Regions from separate parts of the Homo sapiens genome. Here region 2 is linked to region 1. Evidence: promoter capture Hi-C in 16 types of primary human blood cells and fetal thymus (Javierre and others, 2016). All regions are on one chromosome and are shown on one strand. Each heading gives the region's core, a stretch centred on a gene start or on the middle of the fragment in contact. The rest is flanking DNA. Distances are from core to core; before and after follow the strand shown.

What was found. Contacts are between HindIII fragments. The CHiCAGO score rates a contact against its expected background, and 5 or more counts as called.
Region 2: a fragment that was not itself captured here is called in contact with the fragment with the promoter of NETO1 in region 1 in 2 of 17 cell types (total B cells and naive B cells); the score reaches 5.9 in total B cells.

What each region holds. Positions count from the first base shown.
Region 1 is chr18:72,866,737-72,872,650 of GRCh38, forward strand. NETO1 (neuropilin and tolloid like 1) reads right to left here and starts at 1,251. Exons shown (of 11, transcript NM_138966.5): 1 at 528-1,251. The coding sequence starts at 555. NETO1-DT (NETO1 divergent transcript) reads left to right here and starts at 1,652. Exons shown (of 2, transcript NR_134648.1): 1 at 1,652-1,726. The HindIII fragment of the contact is 9,933 bases long and covers 1-3,206 here.
Region 2 is chr18:73,145,098-73,151,011 of GRCh38, forward strand. No RefSeq gene overlaps it. Among named protein-coding and RNA genes, the nearest start is that of LINC02864, 120 kb to the right of the region's middle. The HindIII fragment of the contact is 476 bases long and covers 3,094-3,569 here.

The DNA.
Region 1 (5,914 bases), core at 1-2,500:
ACCACACACCCATAAAGCGACATCAGCGGTCTCCAGGGCGGAAAGGGGTGGAAGCTGACCCTCGCCCTTCCCTCCAGCGCTGGCTTCAGGTGTGCCTTCTGCTACCTCCTGTACTGCGAACAGGGGCCCGCCGAGCTCCGGGAGCCCCTAGAAGAGGAAGACTCCTCTGGCCCCACTAGGTATCATCCGCGCTCTCCCGCTTTCCACCTGCGCCCTCGCTTGGGCCAATCTCTGCCGCACGTGTCCATCCCTGAACTGCACGCTATCCTCCACCCCCGGGGGGTTCCTGCGCACTGAAAGACCGTTCTCCGGCAGGTTTTGGGATCCGGCGACGGCTGACCGCGCGCCGCCCCCACGCCCGGTTCCACGATGCTGCAATACAGAAAGTTTACGTCGGCCCCGACCCGCGCGGGACTGCAGGGTCCGCCGGAGCGCGGCGCAGAGGCTTTTCCTGCGCGTTCGGCCCCGGGAAAGGGGCGGGAGGGCTGGCTCCGGGAGCGCACGGGCGCGGCGGGGAGGGTACTCACTGTGAAGCACGCTGCGCCCATGGATCATGTCTGTGCGTTACACCAGAGGCTCCGGGCTCCACTAATTCCATTTAGAGACGGGAAGACTTCCAGTGGCGGGGGGAGGACAGGGTCGAGAGGTGTTAAAGACGCAAAGCAAGAAGGAAATAAAGGGGGGCCGAGAGGGAGACCGAGAGGAAGGGGGAGCTCCGAGCCCACGCTGCAGCCAGATCCGGATGAGTCCGTCCTCCGCCCCGGGCGGGCTCTCGCTCTCGCTGGCCCTCAGCGCCGCGCAGCCAGCAGCATCCCCACCGTGACGCTCGCATCACACCCGGGCGCCGGCCGCCACCATCCGCGCCGCCGCCGTCAGGACCCTCCTCCCGGGCATCGTCGCCGCCGCGGGGTCGGGAGGACGCGGCGCGCGGGAGGCGGCGGTCGCAGGGCGAGCCCCGGGACGCCCCGAGCCGGGGCCGGGGCCGGGGAGAGGGCGCAGCGAGGTGGGGGCCAGTCCAGACCGACGGCAGCGACGGAGCGGGCGGCGGCGGCGGCGCCGGCGGCGGCGGGGTGGCTCAGTCCCCAGTCTCAGACGCGCCGCGCAGCAGGTCGGAGCAGCCTCCCCGGGAGGATGTCCAGCGGCAGCGCTCCTCGCTCCAGCCCTTGGGGATCTTCCGCTGAGGCATTGAAGGCAGGAAGAAGGGGTCCGTCATCGGCTCGCCGGGCTGCGCGCCACCTCTGCTATCTTGCGGAAAGAGGAGCGGGTGGGTGGGCGTCTGGGAGGCGGGCTGGAGGGCGGTGCAGGGGAGCGGGGCGGCCGGGGGGGGGGCCGGGGGGCGGGGAAGGGAGGGAGGAGAAAGGAGCCGGAAGAGGGCAGAGTTACCAAATGGGCTCCTTAGTCATGGCTTGGGGCTCCACGACCCTCCTGGAAGCCCGGAGCCTGGGTGGGATAGCGAGGCTGCGCGCGGCCGGCGCCCCGGGGCTGGTGCGCGGCAGAATGGGGCCGCGGCGGCGGCAGCAAGGACATCCCAGCCGCGCGGATCTGGGGGAGGGGCGGGGAGGGGGTGAGGACCCGGCTGGGATCCGCGGCTCGGCCCGCCAGGGCGCAGAGAGAGGATGCAGCCGCAAATCCCGAGCCGGATCCTCGTGCCGGACGGAAGGCGTGGAAGCGGGAGGGGCCTTCGTGTGAAAATCCCTTGTGGGGTTTGGTGTTTCACTTTTTAAAGGTTAGACCTTGCGGGCTCTCTGCCTCCCACCCCTTCTTTTCCATCCGCGTAAAGGAACTGGGCGCCCCCTCTCCCTCCCTCCCTGGGGCGCAGGTTTCGCCGCGGACTCCGCGCTCAGCTTGGGAGACACGGCAGGGGCGCGCCCCAGGGAAAGGCGGCCGTAAAAGTTTCGCGGTTGAGCACTGGGCCTGATGTCCAGTCCCCCCACCAAATTACTCCTGCAAAGACGCGGGCTTCTTGCAATTGAGCCCCCCACCTCGAGGTATTTAAAACCACCCCAAGGCACACACGGACCCCCGTTCCCCCGCGCCACTTCCTCCTACAGGCTCGCGCGGCGCGTTAAAGTCTGGGAGACACGAGTTGCGGGGAAACAGCACCGGAAGAGCCCGGGCTTGTAAAATGCGAATCAATGAATACGAAATAAGGGCAACCGCGAGGCAGCGCCGGGAAGGGCTGGAGCGCGCGGGGGTGCAGGGAGTCCCTCCCTGGGCGCCGCAACGGCACCTCCTCCCTTTCCCGGCTCCGTCCCGCCCTCCCTCGGCCTCTGCGGACGCGACCCACGCAGACCACAGCCGAGCCCGCCGGACCCCGGGACTACGGAAGCCATCCCGTCCGGCCACCCACACCCGCGCCGCGGCTGGGGCTTGGGTTGGGGACTGTGGCGGCGAAGAAGCCGGGGTAGGAAGAGCTAATGGCAATGGCGGGGTCGCCGGGGGGCGGGGGGTCAGCAGCAGACGCTGAGCTGTGAAGACTAGGGTGGCCCCGAAAGGCCGAGGAAAGGAGAAAGGGCCATGAGAAGAGTCTGGCGAGCGCTCGAGGCCGGGGGGCTGCCTCCCGGCTCTGGCCCGGCCTCCGCTTCCCGGCACCTGCTGCTGGGGCGCCCACGTGCGCGCGGGGCTGCGCGGGGCGTTGGGTGCTCGTCGCAGTCCTGCCCACGCCTAGCGCAGCGGCTGTGAGTGGGTGGAGGTCTCCTGCCAGTAAGTTGGGATGAGGGACGATGAGGTGACCCCCAAGTCTGGAAGGGATTCAGAGTCTCACACGCGCCCCCAAGCCTCCTACCACCACACCAAAGTGCTGGTTCCTCGATTTCCAGGGTGGGGTAAAGTGACCGAGCAAAGGGGATGGTGTGTTTGTGTGTGCGCGCGCATATACGCGCGCGCGTGTTGTGCATCCGTGTAATGAAAGTTGGGTCATGGGTCAACCCGGGAGTAGAGCGAGATGGAGACCTAAAGAGAGAAAGCTGAGAGAAGGGGGAAGACATGGACAGGGTAAGAGAGAGAGAAAGGAGAGAGAGAAGAAAGGGAAAAGAGGAGCGGGGAGAGAAAAGAGAGGCAGGAGAGAGAATGAGGGGACAGAAGAGAGTAGGGAGACGAGAAGGCGGAGGACAGAAGAAATGGGGGAGAGGGAAGAGGACAGAGAGGCTGCGCGCCTCTGAATACGCCAAGTCCAGCAGAGCTGGAGGCCTGTGAGAGGAGCTGCAAGCTTGAGCAAAGGGAGAGAGGTGAGCGGATGAAGGGAGATTGGTGAGTATCCGCCCACGCACCTACTTGTAAAAAGATCAAGGGGAAACACGCAGAAGGTCCCGCGGGAGTCCTGTGACCCACGTGAGGTGCTCGTGCCAGCGCGGGGTGGGAGGTGGTGGGCAATGTTCGTCGTGGAGTTGAGGAAGAAATTCTCCAGCCTTAAGGAAGCAAAAGAGTTCAAAGATCAGTGAGGCTGCTCAACAGAGGGATATGCAGATGACAGAATGCTTGGAAAACGCTTTTGGGGATCCGGGTCATCTATAGAGGAGAGGGTGGAGGTCTTGCAAAAGGACCAGTCGCAAGAGTTGACAGTTGAATGTTGGAATCTTTCTTATGGTTGGATGGCACTTTCTTTACATCCAAAATATGCGTTATTCGTGAAGATGACACAGTTCTACAAAGAAAGTGGCAACATTTAAAATTATTTGTAGAAAGTTACTGCATTTCTCAATCACAGTTTGAAGGCAGAGAAAACTTGGTTTTACCATAAATGCTCTCATTCACCTGCCCTCTTCTGTCCTCTTTGCCCAGAACAGTTTCCCAGGACACTGGGATTTTGTAACCTGCCAAGGAAGGGGCTACGTTGCTAAACAAGTAGTCCTTTTATGGGACACAGGAAATTAGGAAGGAACTCATAAGGAAGGTGAAAGGGTCCTAACCTTTTGTCCACGCCTGTATTTGAAATCAAATATCTTGCATAAACAGTGGTCTCCATTTTTTTTCTTTTTTTAATGAATTAAAGGCTGGAGCGCAGTGACTGGATCACAGCTTGCTGCAGCCCCAACTTCCTGGGCTCAACTGAGCTTCCCACCTCAGCCTCTGGAGTAACTGGGACTACAGGCACAGGCCATCATGCCTGGCTAATTCTTTTATTTTTTATATTTTTTAGAGAGGGGGTCTAGCCATGTTACCCATGCTGTTCTCAGACTCCTGGCCAAAAGTGATCCTGTGGCCTCCCGCTGATCTTTAATGCCCAGTGCTTTCTCGGGCAATGCGTGGGGCTGAGGCATTAAATTTTGCTGAAACCTCAGTGCTGAGGGAGTGAGTGTGCACGTTCTGGACCTAGGACAGGACAGAGGCCTGGCTAGCTCAGGTGCTCTGATAATCAACCAAGAGACTGGGCCAACACAGATGCTGAGGCCCGCGCTGCACTCTCCTACTCTTTCCAGGCTGCAAGTGTAGCATTGTTATTGACAATTCCATTCATTTTTCTTCATACACACCCATACACGCTTTTCACCATCCACTACATCCTGTTTACTTGGCAAGCTGCCTTCTCATTTTTGAGTTCCAGAATCCACACTTGCTGAGTAATGCTACCTCCCTAATAGGGACCCATAAGATTTTTCTTTCTGAGAAAAAACAACATATGGGAAAAGTTCAGTTTCTCCCAGAAAAGGTTGCGCAAACATATGGTCAAATTACAAGATGATGTCGTTATTTTGAAAGGAAGAGCATATAAACTGATAGCTTTTGTGAGTTGAGTGTGCCATCCTGGAAGATGGTGCTTTGTCGCAGTTCCCCAAGGTTAGCATTGAAATAGTGACTACTATAGAAGATGGTGCAGAATTAAAGCCACTTGAACCCAATGAAGGTGTCATTAGTAAGTTGGTTTTATTTCTCAGCTTGCAGCTTCCTAACAATGAAAGATCATATGGACTTCCAAAATCCTAAAAAGAATTGGCGTAGGGTACAAGCCCTTCTAATTCAAATGCACATAGTATTTGTCTACATACATGTACTTCTCTATAGGAAAAAATAAAGCTACAGTTCTACCAGGGCTCCTTTGTTAATTAATCTCCAGTACTGGCATCATCTTAAAAGTTGTCTATCAGTAAAAGAGGTGATGCTACAAAAAATAACTCAAATGTAATAGTGCTAATGACACATCCATATTACAATAATATTTTCTGATTTTTACATAATTTATTTACATGGTTGTGAAGTGTAAAGGTTTTTGCATTTAACAATATATGTCATAATACTAGTTTCTCAAAAACAAGTAATTTGCTGGTAAATATAGGAATGTTTTTTGAAAATTCTCTGAAATAGTCTAACATGAAGCTGGTTTTAAGCAATATTGAAGAAGCTCTCTTCAAAAAATCTATAGGAGTATCCTAACGCAGTAGAAAGTCTCCACGAAATAGAAGACCTGTCAAAATCTCTGAAATCTTACATTTAAACCAAACAGGATATTTTATGATCACCACTAGGGAAAAATAAAATATAGTTTTGTTAGAAGTACAAATATATTGTATTCTTAGGCAGCACAAGAATGTTTGCCTCTTGTGGGAAAGAACTTTCATAGCACTTCCTTTGCCAGTTAGCACTTTCAGATACATGATCCTTCAATCCATATCAAAACTTCAGAAAAAAAATTTTCATTTTGATTGATATTTACTTCGCAGTGGCTTATAAAAATAATACCAATTATTTTTATGATCACTCGACTAATTATAAGCTCATCCTCTATAAATCAACATAAACTTCAGGAACATTTACGAAGATACACCCCAAGATTAAAAGTGTAAAGGCTCTGTACAGAAGCCACCTTTATAGTATAAGTATTGTACCACAAAGTCCACGCACTGCTATTTCAGGGAAAAAACAAGTTTCCACTCCTAGAAGACGGCATATTTGGAAAATATAAGCTAAACTAAAGGGT
Region 2 (5,914 bases), core at 2,082-4,581, 280 kb after region 1:
TTTTAATCCATGTGATTAAATGTGAGATGTCTTTCCATTATTTGTCTTCAGTTAATTTCATCAATGTTTCATCATTTTCAGTATATGGATCTTTTGCTTCCTTGATTAAATTTATTCTTTATTATCTTATCCTTTTTGATGCTGTTATAGAAGGAGTGGCTTTGTTAATTTCTATTTAAGTTAGTCATTAGTGTATAGGTTTATTATTCTGTAATATAAACTTTGAAGGTGAATAAATGAAACCAGAACCCTCTAAATTATATAGAGATCTTTCTGTTTTCAATTCAGTATTTTTAGTTTCTACTACTGTGGAATTTAATAATAAACATCATGACTTTATTATATTTTTTACCTATGCATATTCTTACAAAAGTTGTAGTTATTTAATTCATTGTCACCTTTCCACTGTATACTTATCTGATGTTTACTTAACTTCAATTTTTATTATCAATATTTTTCTATCTTTAACATCTCATTCTTTATTTATTACATTTGATTTATCATTTATTGATTTGAATTTGAGTAATGATCTTCTAGTTGGTTACTAAGCTTAAATATTTTCTATGTGAAAATTATTTTCAATAATTTGACTTTAGCTAGATGCATTATTCTTGAAACAGAAACTTTTCATTTTTAGAATCTTTATATTTTGAGGTCGAGAAATCTGAGATTGTTCAGATTTTTGTTTTTTTTGAGATGAATTTAACCTTTGTATTCTGTTTTTGAGGCTTGAAACTTTCTTTTTATGGTATAAGTTCAGAGATGTTATCAATTTTATTGAAGCTTATATAAGTTTTAATAAATTTATCATTGAGTTTATTTTAGCCCCTTCAAGTTTCATATTCAAAGTGTATAGTTAGAAAATGAAATGTTTTCCCTAACATTTTAACTGCTAACTCCCCTCTCCAACTTGTTCTGTTTTCTGAATTACCAATACCTATTTGTGTTGCCCTGGACATGCTGTGACATCAACTTCTACCATGCTCTCATCCTTTTAGCTTTCTTATTTACCTCCATTTCTAGAATGCTTCTCAATTTTGTCCTAGACATTACTGATAAATATTTCTGTATGCCCAAGCTCACTAGGTGCAACTAATGGTCATGATGTCTAAAGAATAAAGTTGTTTTAGTTGCCTATTCAAAAATTCAACCCTAACGCCATTCCCTAGAACAACTTATCCTCTTTTGTCCTTTATTTTACTTTATTTAAAAAATATCACCTTTAAATGTCCTATATATTTTAAATGTTTTATTTTCAACTGCCCCCCTAAAAATGTAAGGCATTGAGAGGTGGAATTGTGCTCATTTTATTCACTGCTGTTACCTAACTTCTTAGAATGGTGCCAATAATGAAGCTTAAAATGTATTATTTCATCATGTTCTATTCTGATTTAAGGGGTGCCGTTGTATTTTATTTTTTATTTTTGTTTAAATAGACTTTATTTTTAAAGCCTGTTTTATTTTTAAAATATTTTTGATTTACTGAAAACTTGAGATATAACACAGAGTTCTCATATATCTCACATTCAATTTTTCTATTATTAACAGCTCACATTCATGTGGTATGTTGGCAATATTTGTTTACTCAAAATCAATGCATTAGTTTCTAACAAAAGCCTATAGCATAGGCACATGTGCTTGGTTTTTATCTAATGTTCTTTTGCTGTTCCATTATCTCATCTGGTTTCCCATATACCTATGGCTGTTGTGTCTCCTTAAGCTCCTCTTGGCTATGACAGTTTCTCAGATTGTCCTTGTTTTCAATGCCCTTGGCAGTTTTCTGGAGGACTGGTCAGTGTCTTCAGAATATTTGACAAATGGAGTTTGTTTAATGTTTTTTTTCACACGATTAGGCTGGGGTTATGGATTTCAGGGAGAAACCTGACAAACGCTATTGTCCAGTTGCCCTTTTTAGTTGCTCTTTACAAGTTTCTATTCCTTGAAGATGGAATGTATACATGAATTAATTCTAAGAGAGGCTTATCTTTTCTCCTGGCATTAATTTACAATTTATTTATTTCACTATAGCTCATGGATGGTTATTTTATGCTTTGGGTACAGATAACAGTATTGTCTTGTTTGTTGTGTTTCTCAAATTGTTTCAGTTTTGTGGGAGTTTGGAGTTTTATTGTTTGTTTGTTTGTTTCAGTTTGTTACTTTCTGGCACTACAAGGTGCTCCAGGCTCATCTTTTATATTTCCCACCCATGCTCTAGAATTGGTCATTTATTTCATGAGCTCTGGTTCCTTATATTAAAAAAGTGAAGGAAACTAAGATCTGCTGGGTGTGCTTGTTATTCTTAGGAATTTATAGTTTCTAGGCCCTCTTAACTGACATAATACGGGAACATGTGATTATAATAACCCAGGCATATACACATATTTATAAGTTTTTCTATTTAACCATCTGAAGCTATGTTAGGCCTAACTTTAGTTCATAGCAATGTTTCCAACCATAATACCTTACCACCTGGATCATTCTAGCCTCCTCATATTGCTAATCAGTAAATTCTCACTCCAACAGCTCCCACCACTCACTGCCTATTTGATTAATTGCTTAATTTTAGACACACGTATAGCAGTTTCAGAATTACTAACCCAGATCCCTGGTGGATATTACTTTTGAAATGAGAATACAGTGCTTAGGAACAGTTCCTTCTCCATTTTTATACATACATTTCTAAAATGACTTAGGTCAGCATATTTCCCTCCACCTTCTTTGGGGATACCTTTTCATAAATTTGTAATATAGTTTGATCATCTTGTTAGAATCTACATTCCTTCCTGAGAGCCTCTGACCTCCTAAATGGTTTTCTTTAATTGAATACATGATGGTTCATTCTTTGCGCTGTGAAGGTCTATAAGTTTTGACAACGCCTAATATCATATATCTACAATTACAGTATCATGGAGAATAGTTATCCTGCTCTGAAAATTCCCTCTGCTTCACATAGTCATCCTTCATCCCCTCCCTCTTAGAAACCATCTTTCTATAGTGTCTATAGTTTTGTCTTTTCTAGAATGAGACATATTTGGAATCATACATTATGTAAACTTTCCAGATTGATTTATTTAACTGAGCAATGAGCACTTAAGCTTCCTCCGTGTCTTTTTATGACTTAATGGCTAATTTCTTTTCATTGCTGAAATAATATTTCATTGTATGAACGTACCAGGTTTTTAAAAAATCCATTTACCTAAAAGAATATGTTGATTGCTTTCAGTCTTTGGTGATTAAGAATAAAGCTGCTAAAACATTTCACCTGCAAGTTTTGGTGTGAACAAAGATTTCAATCAATTGCATATATATCCCAAAGTACAATTGCTAGATAGTATGGTAAGACTCGTTCACCATTATAAGAAACTGCTTCACTCTTTCAGGGTGGCTGTGGCACTGCACCTTCACTCAAGCAATGGATGAGTTTCTATATCTCCACATTACTGCCACCATTTCATATTGTTGTTGTGGATTTGAGCCTACCCAATTGGTGTGTGTGTTTTGTAGATCTTTGTCCCTTTCTTCCACTCTTCTTGTTTGCATCTATGAACCAGTGGTTTTCTGTGATGCTAAGCTTTGTTTCATTTTTCTTTTTTGTTTGCATGTCTGCAGTAATTTGTTTCTTTCTGGTTACCATGAGTCTAACATAAAGAATATTGGATCTGCAATAGACTTGTTTTTTAAACTGATAATAACATTACTCACATAAGAATATTCTAGACTTTTTCTCTACCCCCATAATTTATATTTTTGTTGCCTTAATTTACATCTTTATCTATTTTGTTTTTATTAGCTGCTAATATTAGCTGTTGTTATTTTTGACCATTTCGACTTTCAACCTTCATACTGCAGAAATTTAAGATTTACATAGCACCAAACATCACTGGAGTATTCCAACTTTGATTTATAAATTCAACTCTACTAATGAGTTTTATACTTGCACATGTTTTCATTTTAGTATTTATTTATTTATACTTTCAGTTGCAGCATTCTCTTAAGCACTTTTTGTACGACTGGTCTAGTGGTGATGAATTCCCTCAGATTCTGCTTGTCCAGGTAGTTCTTTATTTCCCCTTCATTTCTAAAGGATAACTTTGCTAGATCTAGTATTGGTGGTAGTTTTTTGTTTTGGGGGAGTTCTTTGAGCACAGTGAGTATATCATCCCATTCTCTTCAGGCTTGCCAGGTTTCTGCTAAGAAATCTCCTAATCATTTGATGGGGGATTCCATTTTCTGTGACTTGACTTTTTTCCCTTGCAGCTTTTAGAGTTCTCTTTGTCTTTGACAGTTTGATTAAAATGTGCCTTAAAGAGTTTCTTTTTGGGTTGAATCTAATCAAAGTTCTTTCAGCTTCCTGAATCTGGATGTTCACATCTGTCCCAAGACTTGTGAAATTTTCAGCTATTATTTTATGAAATATATTTTCTGTGCTCTTATCCCTCTGTTTTCCTACCGAATTACTATAATGCAAACATTTAATAGCATCGCATAAATCCTTTAACAGAGGATTTTTCTGTTTCTCTTCTCAATTCTTGCAGGTTACTCAGCTTCACTTATTCAAATTTTCAGTTATTGGGAGTATCTGTAGTTGTGCTGATACATGCATGAGTGGTTTATTTCATGACACTGAGTTTAACAAAGTTTGTCCCTGAATGTGGTTCACTGGCAATTTTGAAACCCAGGCCCAGACAGGGAGAAAGAACACAAAAGACTGATCAGTATTTCACAAACATTAACATACTTAAATGCACTTCAATAGGAGGGTGTTAGGACTTTCTATTTGAGAATTCACAACCTAGCTTGAAGATATTTTGTACTTTATTAAAAGATATAATATTTTAAATATATTTAGTTATAAAGCAACTCCTGAGTTGAAGAAAGCTCAAAACAATATAGGAAAAAAAATACATTTTTAAGAGAGATGGTATTATGAAAATGAAATGGGATATTGTTTGAATTCTCACTATGTCACCAGCTATTTTATATTTTGCAATAAATGCAATGCACTGACTGCTCAGTCATTTCCAATGTTATTCAAATTCTGATCTCAATCAACATAATTTTTAAAAATTAGGATGATACATAAGTACAATAAAACTCTTGATTGGAGAAAAACATTTTGTGTATTATATGTTAAAGTGAAGATATAAAATAGCATTTCCTGAATTGTGGTAACAAGGCCAATATATTTTGATACTTTTAATATGTTACTAACAAATGTTGAAAACAAAGTAAGCCAATTAAGAAAACTGAAACACTTACATCAATTGACCAAAAGCAATCAATGAGCTAGAAAGAAACCATTACCACAACTTCCCACATGGGGCAGATTAACAATGAAGTGACATCTGAAGAGATTTAAAACATTCTACAACAGACTAATAACAGTTAAAGTCTTATAATACATATTGGTTTGGCTGTTTCAGCATAATCACAATACAGATTTTAATCAAACTTGGTTACTTACAAATTATTTTGTTTGAATGCAGCTTTATAAAATGAATCTGCCAAGTAAATAAAATAAAATTAAAATCCATGCAGAAGAAAGGATTTAACATTGTGGCATTTCTTTTTATTTCAAGTTAATACTGAGAAGAGAAAATAAAGCATCTGAGAAAATTATTTAAAATAATAATCTAAAAAATTCTCATGGTTTCTTAACAGCTAGTGATTTTCCCTTGGGGAACAATTATAGTCCTGTAAGCAGAGGGTATTCTAAGAATGATTATTGAGATTTGGAAGGGAACATACTACTAGAGATAGTAAAACAGCAAAACTAATCTAAAATGTCAGTACAGACAGTCCCTGATTTATGATTTGACTTACAATTTTTCAACTTTATGATAATATGAAAGTGATACACATTCAGTAGAACTCATACTTCAAATACCCATACAACCTTTCAGTTTTTCACTTT